Linked DNA regions of Homo sapiens: all the other regions are linked to region 1. Evidence: promoter capture Hi-C in human tissues and cell types (Jung and others, 2019). All regions are on one chromosome and are shown on one strand. The core of a region is centred on a gene start or on the middle of the fragment in contact, and the rest is flanking DNA. Distances in the headings are between cores, read along the strand shown. Region 1 holds the start of CACNA1S (calcium voltage-gated channel subunit alpha1 S). Region 2 overlaps DDX59-AS1 (DDX59 antisense RNA 1). Region 3 holds the start of CAMSAP2 (calmodulin regulated spectrin associated protein family member 2).

Evidence for each region. Contacts are between HindIII fragments. The study calls those that stand out against the background at their distance.
Region 2: a fragment that was not itself captured here is called in contact with the fragment with the promoter of CACNA1S in region 1 in 1 of the 25 tissues and cell types used here (heart right ventricle).
Region 3: the fragment with the promoter of CAMSAP2 here is called in contact with the fragment with the promoter of CACNA1S in region 1 in 1 of the 25 tissues and cell types used here (thymus).

The regions. Positions count from the first base shown.
Region 1 is chr1:201,110,695-201,114,590 of GRCh38, reverse strand. It overlaps CACNA1S (calcium voltage-gated channel subunit alpha1 S), which reads left to right and starts at 2,165. Exons shown (of 44, transcript NM_000069.3): 1 at 2,165-2,403. The coding sequence starts at 2,252. ASCL5 (achaete-scute family bHLH transcription factor 5) reads left to right here. Exons shown (of 2, transcript NM_001270601.2): 2 at 1-648. RefSeq lists a silencer at 1-38. The HindIII fragment of the contact is 14,734 bases long and covers 1-3,896 here.
Region 2 is chr1:200,676,507-200,680,402 of GRCh38, reverse strand. All of the region lies in intron 1 of DDX59-AS1 (DDX59 antisense RNA 1), which reads right to left. Among named protein-coding and RNA genes, the nearest start is that of DDX59, 8.5 kb to the right of the region's middle. The HindIII fragment of the contact is 3,264 bases long and covers 251-3,514 here.
Region 3 is chr1:200,736,778-200,740,673 of GRCh38, reverse strand. It overlaps CAMSAP2 (calmodulin regulated spectrin associated protein family member 2), which reads right to left and starts at 1,781. Exons shown (of 17, transcript NM_203459.4): 1 at 708-1,781. The coding sequence starts at 846. RefSeq lists silencers at 972-1,041, 1,072-1,431 and an enhancer at 2,072-2,151. The HindIII fragment of the contact is 12,514 bases long and covers 1-3,896 here.

The DNA of each region.
Region 1 (3,896 bases), core at 916-3,415:
GCTTGGGGCGGAAGTGCAGGGCAGCGGGTACGATGGGCACGATAGAGACCTAGGAGCTCCGTGGGTGAAGCGAGGGGCAGGGCCTGGGACTGCTCCGGGCGTCCTGCGTCCCCTCCGGGGTGCAGAGGGGCTCCCCAGGACGGTCATCCCTGGGTCTGGCTCCCGCTCGGCCTCAGGTGGCTCTGCTCCGTCCTTCCTTGCCGCAGGCGCAGTCCAGTCTCTGCGAGTCCCCGGGATGCGAGCCCGACTTTGAGCCCTCGGTTACCATGCCACTGCTCTCCACCAGATGGCCTCAGATACTAGCGACTTCTTTGGGAGCACGCTTACTCCTCGAGAAAGGAACCCAGAGGAAGGGATGGGAGGCCAGATTGCTGCTGGCGCTCAGCCCAGACCGAACCTACAGACTCAGCAGAGGCGACCTGTGTGCCCCGGTGGCGTTCTCTGGCTTCCTGGGTTGGGAGGGGGGGTTACTCCCTCCCCGCATCCCCCCCATGAGGTCGTCTAGTTTTGTCCCAGGTTGGGTGGGGACTGTGGTTTTTTTCCCTCAGACTGTAAGCCTTGGGGGAGGGGGGCGTGCATATAGGTACATAGGCACTGCGTCGGCACCAAAGAGCTAAATAAAAGGATTGTTGAATTTTCTCATTCCTAGATCATTGTCTACCCTCACCCTTCCTGGTGCCCCTTTCTTATTCTCACTCCCAGCCCAGAGTACTTGCTGGGAGGATATGTGGGGTTCGCTGTTAGCTCAGCACATTTAAGATTCAGTGTTGTTAGCTCAGGCGTTCAATGAATTTTTTTTTTTTTTTTTTTTTTTTTGAGACAGGTTTTGCTCTGTTGCCCAGACTGGAGTGCAGTGATTCAATCCCTGCTCACTGCAACCTCCTTCTCCTGGGTTTGAGCAATTCTCCTGCCTCAGCCTCCAGAGTAGCTGGGATTATAGGTGCACACCACCACGCCCGCTAATCTTTGGTATTTTTAGTAGAATGCGGGTTTCACCATGTTGGCCATGCTGGTCTCGAATTCCTCACCTCAAGTTATCTACCTACCTTGGTTTCCCAAAGTGCTGGGATTACCGTGGCTATCCTCAATGAACTTTTCTTTTTGAGACAAGGTCTCACTCTGTCTCACTCTGTCATCCAGGCTGGAGTGCAGTGGCCAGATCTTGGCTCATTGCAGCCTCAACCTCCCAGGCTCAACTGATCCTCCCACCTTGGCCCCCCTAGTAGCTGGGACTACAAACACACACCACCATACCCTGCTAATTTTTGTATTTTTTGTAGAGACAGAGTTTCACTACGTTGCCCCGACTGGTCTTGAAGTCCTGAGCTCAAGCCATTCTCCCACCTCAGCCTCCCAAAGTGTTGGGATTACAGGCGTGAGCCACCATGCCTGGCCTCAGTGAACATTTACAGGGAGCATAGTACATAGGGGGACTGTGCAGAGAAGGGGCCAGAGTCCCAGAGATAATGCACACAACCTTTACACCTGTAGGGATGGGAGGAGATGGGGAAGAAAGATACACAGCAGATGCTCCACAGTGAGGCAGGTGCTATGCCAGAGGTGTGCACACTCAGGGTTGTTCTGGGAGCCTTCTAGCCCACTGGAGAGGGGTTTACTGTTTCTCTGACATGGGATTGCTTGTGGGGGTGGGTTGAGGGTATGCTTGGGGAGTTTTGGCTGATGGTGCAGATACTGAGATGGGTAGGGGCTGCTGTGGAGCTGTCCTGACTTAGGCTGCCCAGTGCCTTCTCCAGACAATGTCATGGGGCTGAGGAGGGGTAAGCCTAATTTTGGCATGAGGGGGCCACTCTGCAGTTTGAGGTTCCATATCCAAGGCTACCTATTCCTGACCTCTGTTGCCCCAGGCTTGAAACCTTCCATCCTGTCTCCCTCTCCCACTGCCCCTGCCCCATCCCAGGCCTGTGTGTAAGTTCTTCCCCCGACCCACCCCACCCTCCTCAGGGGACAGATTGGGAAGTCACTGGCTGGGCTGGGTGGAATGACAGCTGCCTGGCCTCAGAAGCTCAGGCCCGGCAGCGGGGAGCCGAGTGGAGGCTAATTTTACTTGCTGGGAGCGAGGAGAGTAATCCTCCTGCCCCCACTCCTGCCCCCGCCCCCTGGCTGGCTCAGCAGGGCAGGCTCAGCCGACAGCCTCAGCCAGCCTAGTCCCCAAGGCGGGGGCATTGGGGACACAGGGAAGGGAAAGCACTGGGGTGGGGGAGCAGGAGAAAGCCAGATTCCCAGGGAAGCCATGGAGCCATCCTCACCCCAGGATGAAGGCCTGAGGAAGAAACAGCCCAAGAAGCCAGTTCCTGAGATTCTGCCAAGGCCACCCCGGGCCTTGTTCTGCCTGACCCTGGAGAACCCCCTGAGGAAGGCCTGCATCAGCATTGTAGAATGGAAGTATCCTTCAGGGCCCGGGCCGTGGGGGGGGGTGTGCGTCATGAGGGAGGGATTCGGGGTGATCACAGAGCACAAACTTCCTACAGGAGGGCCAGGGAGGCCTGGCACTTAGACATGGGGTGAACTCACAGAATTGAGTGAGGAGCTGGGGGAAGGAGCCCTCGGCTAAGCAGGAGAGGAGGAGGAGGAAGAGGAGGAAGACGAGGAGGGTGGGGGAGGAGGAGGAAGAGGAGGAGGGTGGGGGAGGAGGAGGAAGAGGAGGAGGAGGAAGAGGAAGAGAAGGAGGACTTGGTGGGGCTTCCTGGGCCTGAGTGGGCCACCCAAGTCCTGGATGACAACCAGAGATGCCTACTGACCACCTATGGGTGGGGCCTGTTTCATGGGGACTGTTCCCATGTGTGCCCAAATCCACATTATCATGGGGTGCCACTAGGTTTTTGAAGCACCAGCCTCATTTTAGAATAGGATAGGGACCAAAAAAAGATGCGATGGCCTCTTTGAGAAAACTCTCCCTTGTTTGGGTTGGGTGGGGGGTGACAGTGGACAGAGGTGAGCTGAAGGAAGGCTTCCTCTGGGGGCAGGTCCCAGCTGAGGACAGAGCCAAGGGGAGAAATGGATCTGAAAGACACCTGGTCTCAGTGGCTCCAAGACACAGGCCAAACAAGCCTGGTTGTTCTAGCTCAGACGTGCCACCCTGGGGACAGGGACTTTGAAACTCATGCTATGTTTGCATTTGCTCTGGTGGGGAGAATGATGAAAATATCTGGGTTATTTGGGGAAGGGAGGAAGGAGTGACAGAGAGAAGGGGAGGGCTGTGTCAAGTGGGTTCTGAGAGCGAGGGTGGGGCATATTTGAAATATTTCTGAAGAGTTCTGGAAGGCTGGGCTCCTACCAGCTGTTCCCTAGAAGGAAGGAGAATGAGGGATAACTGGAAGGACAAGAGAAACGTGGGGCAAGTAGAGATAGTTTGGGGTCAGGGTCAGCCCTGTTCCCCTGACCCGCTCTCGGCCAGGCGGTATATCGCCCACATCAAACCCTCCTAGGCCCTCCCTCCTTGCCTCTCTTCTGCAATCAGGTTTACTCTGTGGGTTCTCCCTCTCCTCCATCCTCTGCTCCTCTGCGCCCTGCCCCTGTGGCCCTCCTCTTTTCTCAAACACTGGAGGTTACTGGGAAGAGAATGGGATTTTTCTGTCAAGCCCAACTACGTAATATGCCTCCCCATCCACCCCCAAACAACTCCCTCGCTTCCTCCCTTGCTTTCTCTAGCTCTTTCCAGACTTGCTGCCTAATGGGCCAGAAAGTCGAGAAAGCCATGGGCCTGGGGTACCCTCTGGAAATGGCTGTGGCGGGGTGGGTGTGTCTGGGAGGGGTGAGGTGTGATGGGTGTGAGCACGTGCACACCAGCATGTGCACATGGCTCTGGAAATTCAGCATTCATCTCTCCATCTCTCCTTCCCAGTCCTACTCAGTGAGTTCTCAACCTTACCCTGCAT
Region 2 (3,896 bases), core at 633-3,132, 430 kb after region 1:
TTGGTTCAAATCCAGGCTCTGCCAGGAAATGACTGCTCTCAGGCAGGTTTCTTAAAGTTTGTACCTCAGAGTTTCCTCATTTGTAAAATGGGGGCTCTTTCATTTATTCAACAAATATTTAAGTGTCTACTGTGCACTATTAGACACACTTCTCCTTGAAAGCATAGTTCTTGGGGCTGAGATTAGAGCCAAATGGCCAGATATGATGGCTCATGCCTATAATCCCAGCATTTTGGGAGGCCGAGGCAGGAGAATTGCTTGAGGCCAGGAGTTCGAAACCAGCCTTGCCAACTTAGTGAGAACCTCACATCTCTATTTTTAAAATGTTAAAAAGTATTTTTTAAAAAACATATTAGAGCCAAAAACAAGAAAAACTTTGTTCCTTCATGGAGCTCACAATAGTTATATGTACCTTCCTTTTAGATTGTTATGAGGATTACACGAAATTTTAATTTCCTAAATGCTAAGATGTACACTTTTTTACATTTTACAGCTCTGAAATTGAGATTCATTTTACAATCAATGGCATTTTACAGTTAATTGGCAGGGTGTTTTTCTTTTTTAGTGTTATATAGAGTAATGGTGTCACTTATAATCAATGGGGTTTCAGATTCCATAAAATATGATCATACTTATAAAATCTTAATTAAGTATCTGGAAGGCTATACACTGCAGCACTTGTAATAGCAAATAACTGGAAACAGCTCAAATGGTTATCTGCGAGAGACTGGAGCTATAGTGCACCCAATGGAGAAGTGGAAAGGAATGAAGAATATTTTTATACACTGCCATGAAGCAATCAATCTCCAGGATATGTTGTCAGCTGAAAAGAAGGTGGAAAAAGTGTCTACAGTATGCTTCTGTTTATCTAAAAGGTGTATATATATATGCACAGATATAAAATACTTGCTTATATTTTCAAAACTGGAAGGATAGACAAAACAATTTTTGAATTAAAAAAATTAAGTAACCTATGGGAGAGGGAAGGAATAGGGTGGAAGGAATAAAAGCTAAAGTTTTCAGAATATACATAGTTTTGTAGATTTGATTTCAAACCCTGTAAATGTATTGTGTTTTTGTTTTTGTTTTTTTAGAGATAGGACTAGGTATGTTGCCCAAACAGGAGTGCAGATCATTCACAGGTATGATCATAGCACCCTGTAGCGTCACACTCCGGGGCTTCAGTGATTCTCCCGACTCAGCCTCCCAAGTATCTGAGACAGGTTTATAAAATTATAAAACAATGTTAAATCAAAATGGAAAAGAAAATCAATTCATGAAAAGCAAAAGCAAAAGGAAACAAATAGATCCACCCTTTGAATTGACTTAGTGGCTTAACCATACAGAAAGGATTATTTCACATGGTTTTAAAACACAATAATTTGACTATGTATCCTTACTAGAATATATCTGGAATTTTTAAAAAGTCAAAGACATTTTAAACTATTTTCAGTAATTATATGGTTAGTAATAATTTTGGTATTATTATTCTGAAGCCATTTTATATGTAACAAATAAAATTATATTAAATTTTTAAAATTTATTTATTTATTTATTTTGAGATGGAGTCTTGCTCTGTTGCCCAGGCTAGAGTGCACTGGTGTGATCTCGGCTCACTGCAACATCCACCTCCTGGGTTCAAGTGATTCTCCTGCCTCAGCCTCCTGAGTAGCTGGGACTATAGGCATGCACCACCACGCCTGGCTAATTTTTGTATTTTTAGTAGAGATGGGGTTTCGACATGTTGGCCAGGCTGGTCTCGAACTTCTGATCTCAGGTGATCCATCCACCTCCGCCTCCCAAAGTGCTGGGATTACAGGTGTGAGCCACCACTCCTGGCCATTAATATACTTAGAAACTAAAATTTTCAGTGTAAAAGTGATATCAAAATAAAATTTAAAACTTTTTAATTAAAAACCTTTTAACTTTTTAAAGTTAAATAAAAACCTTGTAATCCTAAATTTGAATAAAATGAACTTACGATTTTTTTCTCCTAAAAAAAAAAAAAAAAGAATGTCTGAGCTCTGTCCACTAAAAAGGCTTAGAAACCATAACCAATTTAGTAGCAATTAGCATCTCTCATGCCTAGGCTGTGGCCTATAAATACCATTTTCTGTCAAAGGGAATCAGAAACCCAGGCTCCTGATAGAAATGGCTGATTCTCAGTCTGGGACAAAAATATGTAAGATGGGCCAGGCGTGGTGGCTCACGCCTGTAATCCCAGCACTTTGGGAGGCCGAGGTGGGTGGATTATGTGAGGTCAGGAGTTCGAGACCAGCCTGGCCAACACGTCGAAATACCGTCTCTACTAAAAATACAAAAATTAGCCGGGCATGGTGGCATGTGCCTGTAGTCCCAGCTACTCAGGAGGCTGAGGCAGGAGAATCGCTTCAACCTGGGAAGTGGAGGTTGCAATGAGCCAAGATCCCACCACTGCACTCCAGCCTGGGCGACAGAGCGAGACTCCAACTCAAAAAAAAAAGTAAGATGAGCTGGGAACAAGCTCCATCACACCAGAAAGCAAGGAAACTTTCAAAGACTACTGGGTTTTATGTGTCAAAAAGACCCTAAAGCCACCTTGAAGAGGTTCCCACTGTCAAAGATGGGACAATTTAAGCTTCACAAAGAATAGTAAGTGCAATTAACTGAAATGCATCAAATATGTTAAACATTCTTGAGTCTGGCCTCACACAGTAACTCACACCTGTAATCTCAGCACTTCGGGAGGCACAGGCAGGAAGATCACTTGAGTCTAGGAGATGGAGACCAGCCTGGGCAACATAGTGAGAAACACATCTCCACAAAAAATTTTTTAAAAAATTAGCTGGGCATGGTACTGTGCCTATAGTCCCAGCTACTCAGGAGGATCGCTTGAGTCAGGGAGGTCAAGTCTGCAGTGACCCTAAGTCATGCCACGGCATTCCAGCTGGACAACAGAGCAAGATCCTGTCTCAAAAAATAAATTAAATAAAATAAATCCTTGAGTCTGCCAGGCGCGGTGGCTCACGTCTGTAATTCCAGCAATTTGGGAGGCTGAGACGGGCGAATCACCTGAGGTCAGGAGTTCAAGACCAGCCTGGCCAACATGCTGAAACTCCATCTCTATAAAAATACAAAAATTAGCTGGGCATGATGGCAGATGCCTGTAATCCCAGCTACTCAGGAGGCTGAGGGGGGAGAACCGCTTGAACCCGGGAGGCAGAGGCTGCAGTGGGCCGAGATCGTGCCATTGCACTCCAGCCTGGGTGACAGAGTGAAACTCTGTCTCAAAAAAAAGAAAAAAAAAATCCTTGAGTCCATAGTGATTAAGGAAAAAAAAAAACACACACGCTCATAGGTCACCTTTGGAAGATGCCAGAGGATCAACTCCTTAGCCCATGGTTACAAAACAACACTCTTAATCAGTACAGCCATCTGTGCAGTGCTGGAACATTTCTGATTTCAGTAAAATATCTAAGGCTCGTTGCAGTGCTGAAATAAATCCTGAAAGTACACAATATAAGTGGGATAAGATGCAAAAGGAAGACAGAAGATGACAGACATGTTGGGAGAGAAATTAATAGACTAATGGTCCCAGTGTGATTGAAAATGATCATGACGGGAGAAGTTGAACAAAGTAAAGCTGGAAGAAAAGGAGGTTGTTACCAGATAAAAGAATATCCAAATTGGTGCTCTTGATTTGTCCCCTGCTGAGAAATTTAGAGTTGCCTTGGGAAAACCTAAGATGCTCTTCTCTTCATTTTTTGAAAGTTTAATGTCCCATGAACATGCCTAATCTTGAAAGGGAGAATCCAGCACAATACTTTTTCCTCTGGAAAATTAACGCATATTGGCAGCAGGTTTCTTTTTTTTTTTTTTTTTGAGAGAAGTCTCGCTCTTGTCCCCATGTTTGAGTG
Region 3 (3,896 bases), core at 532-3,031, 370 kb after region 1:
AAAAACTTCCCAAAGTAGGGAGTTTTTGTTTCTTTTAATTTATGAAGCCAAAATACATTTGGAAAAAAGAATATGCCTCACTGATAATATGAAATGAAAACTGCACCCTACAGTCAGCAAACTGAACGCTGGTTTTAAATAACTGATTTAATAAGAACTTAACATGCGTGCAGAAGGCTGATACAGCCTTAAAGAATGACAACAAAAATTAATACTGCACTCGACACAGGCCACCTTACATCCAACGGAGCCTGAATAGCAGCCATCATTACAAATGTCAAAATCAATATAGTACTATGCACCATCCACCTTCTTGCAATAATAAAGAAACCAACTCAGATTTCTTGGTGGTGTAATCACAATTATGACTGAGGCAGAAATGTACGCAACACAATGAAGAAAATACCACAAATCAAAACCACTCTATGTAAAAACATAAAATTGCTCACTGGGGGATGGGGGGGACATTTTGCCATCCAATAAAAGGAATCTGGCCAAATCCCACCTGACCATTCACGTGCCCTTCATTGAAGACCAAACCTGCTTTCCTTATTTCTCCTTTCTTTCTCTTCCTAGCCTCCCATCATCTCCCTTAACCTGTACGAGAAGACAGGCACGGGGAGGGAGGGATTCGAGAATCGGGAACAAAAACCGAGATGTGGACCACATCAGGAGGAAGAGGGGAGGGAAAGGGTGACACCACTAACCTGTCCCAAAGGCTTTGGCCACCAGCCAGGCCAGATTGCAGGCGATTTTGGCCCTGGAGAAATCATAGTGGTCAAAAGGCTTGATGGCTGGAACAATGAACGTCTTTCTCATCTCCCTGGGGTCTGCAGCATCCCCCATCTTTCACCGCGGCTCCTCGGGATGTCCCGGCCCTAACCTTCACATGGCGTGGCCTCGCCACCACGGGGGTCGGGAGGGAGGGAGAAGCAAGCTCAAACCATCGGGGCCCGGGCGATGTCCGCCCGGGCGCCGACGGAGGAGAAGCTCAGCTGTCCGCGCCGCGCGCCTGCCGCCTCCCGCGGGAGCCGCCGCCGCCGCCGCCGCCGCTCCCGGGCATAGGAATGTGGCGGCGCCGTCTCCGTCCGTCCGTCCGCGCGAGGTCCGCCCCGTGCCCGCGCCCCTCCGAGCCACCCGCCCCGCGAGCCCGCGTGTGAGCGAGGCCGCCTCCCCTTTGTCTCGGTTTAGTCACACGGGCTTGGGGGAGGGTGGAGGCTGGAAGGGCCCGGAATTTTAAGGGAGGGGGGATGGGGGGAGCCTTCAACAATCACGTTGTGGAAAATGTCCCCGCCATCGCGATGCCCGCACGCCCTCGCCTCCCTCTCCCCTTCCCTCGGAGCGGGGAGACCCCTCAGGCCCCGGGTGGGCGGAGGGACGAGCAGGACGAGGGGGAAGCGCGGGGCGAGCTGGCCCACCCAGCGCAGCCCGGCCCCTGCCCGCCGGAGACGCAGCAGCGGAAAACGTCAAAATCACTGCGGCTCACAGGCCGCCGCCGGCCCGTCCCCTCCTCTGTGCTCCCTCCCGTCGCCGTCTCCTCCTTCCCCTGCCGCCGTCGCCGCTGCCGTCTCCCGGGTCTTCCTCCCTTGCTGACGGCGAAGGTGGTGGCCGGGGAGAGGCCGCGAATCCCAAGCTCTCAGTTCCTGTCTTATCAGTAATGTCCTTGTAATTTTTTCCTGCCCCCCTTTCTGCAGCTCGCTGGATCGTTCCCCCTCAGCCGCCGCCGCCGCCGCTGCGGTTTTCCGGCTGCGGCACTGGATGAAGGAGCAGATGCGGAGACTGAGCATGCGCCTTCGCGCGGCTCCGACCCACCCCCCCCAACCCCCGCCCCCGCCCCCGCCCCCTCCCCGCTTCCCTCCCGTCTCCGGCCCACTGAGCATGCCCAGCCTCGCTCCCCGCCCGCGCCCGGGATTCGGGGCGGCTGCCTTTTAATCATCGCTCTGGAGTACTCGCTTCAGTGGACATCCTCCACGTCCCTGGCTTTTGGCTGCTGCTGCCTGCACTGCTGAGAGAGGAAAAGGAAGGGAGGGAGGAGGGAGAGGCCTGGCAATAGCTTTCGTATTCTACTTACACAGTGCTTCATCGAAAAGAGTTGATATTTACTTAAAATGTTCATTATGTGACACACACTTTGCAGCGAACTTGACCTGCACTATCTCATTTAGCCCTCGCAATAATCCTGAGAGGTAGATGTCATTGCTGATTGTCCACGAAAGAGAGGTGGAGTTGATTAGGTCATACATGGAACTTAACCAGGATTGAGGATCTGTGGGGGCTCCAAACCTGTGTTAATTTCATGATATCGAGATATTTTCTTAACTCAGTGCTCTCCACTTAAATTTTATCTCTGAGAGGGCACACGTCCAACAATGCCTCCCCATTCTCTCAGAAAAGAGCATAAATTCTTTCACAAAACAAGCTAATGCCCTTTGTGATCTGGCATCTACAGGCCTTTATAGCTTCATTTTGTCAGAACTGCTCTCTATTTTCTTCAATGAGCATGCCTTCTCAGATCTCTACCTCCTTGCTCAGGGTGGTTCCTCTGTCCACCCAGCTTACTCCTACTGCACCTTCAAACTCCACAGTAGTCACTTCCTCCATGAAGCCTTCCCTGACAGCTGCTGACAACTTTCCAGTCAGGGCTGTCACACAGGTGCCTCCCCTGTTGTTCCCGGAGCACCCTGTTCTTATTTCTGTCGTAGCATCTGTCACATCGTGTGGCAATAATCAGTTACTTGTCGGTTTTTCCCATTGATGACATGATGACAGGGTATATCTCCAGCAGCTATACGGTGCCCAGCCCCATAGTATAATTGCTCAATTAATGGACTACATGTGAATATTATCAAAGTTAACACATACTGAGCTTACTTAAATCACTAGCTCCTCACGTCTCATTTTAATACATTATCTAATTTTATTTTTAAGTGATTGTTGTTGTTATTATTATTATTATTGAGACGGAGTCTTGTTAAGTCGCCCAGGCTGGAGAGTGGTGGCAAGATCTCAGCTCAGTGCAATCTCCACCTTTAGGGCTCAAGCGATTCTCCTGCCTCAGCCTCCTGAGTAGCTGGGACTACAGGCGCGCACCACCACGCCCAGCTGATTTTTTGTGTATTTAGTAGAGATGGGGTTTCACCATGTTGACCAGGCTGCTCTCGAACTCCTGACCTCAGGTGATCCGCCAACCTCAGCCTTCCAAAGCGCTGGGATTACAGATGTGAGCCACTGCGCCCAGCCTATTATTATTATTTTTTGAGACAGGGTCTTGCTTTGTTGCCCTGGCTGGAATACAATGGCAAAATCACAGCTCACTGCAGTCTCAACCTCCCAGGCTCAAGCAATCCTCCCATCTCAGACTCCCATATAGCTGGGATTACAGGCACACATCACCACACCCAGCTAATTTTGTTTATTTTTTGTAGAGATGAGGTCTCCCTATGTTGCCCAGGCTAGTCTCAAACTCCTGGACTCAAGGGATCCTCCCACCTCAGCCTCCCAAAGCGCTAGCATTATCTAATTTTAATCATTATAAAATCCTGTATTATCTTCATTATACAGATGAGAAAACTAAGGCTCAGAAAAAAAAATTAATTACTCTTATTCTGCACAACTAGTAAAGGCAGAGGGCAGCTCCATCAAAAAGCAGGTCCCTTTGTTTCTGTTTAATCCCTGTAAACACTCCTCCTTAAACCTAGTAGGACACAACAGATGAGGCTTGCTAACAATGTGGGATATGAAAAGAATTTGAAAATAATAATATGCCAGAGGGTGGTTGATGTAATTTTTCCAATAATTTAATTAATATTAATAGGGTTTTTCTCATGGGCAAGGAAGGCCCTTTGCTGTATCACATGGAGGTTAATAAAATTAACAGATAGATAACAACTCACAAA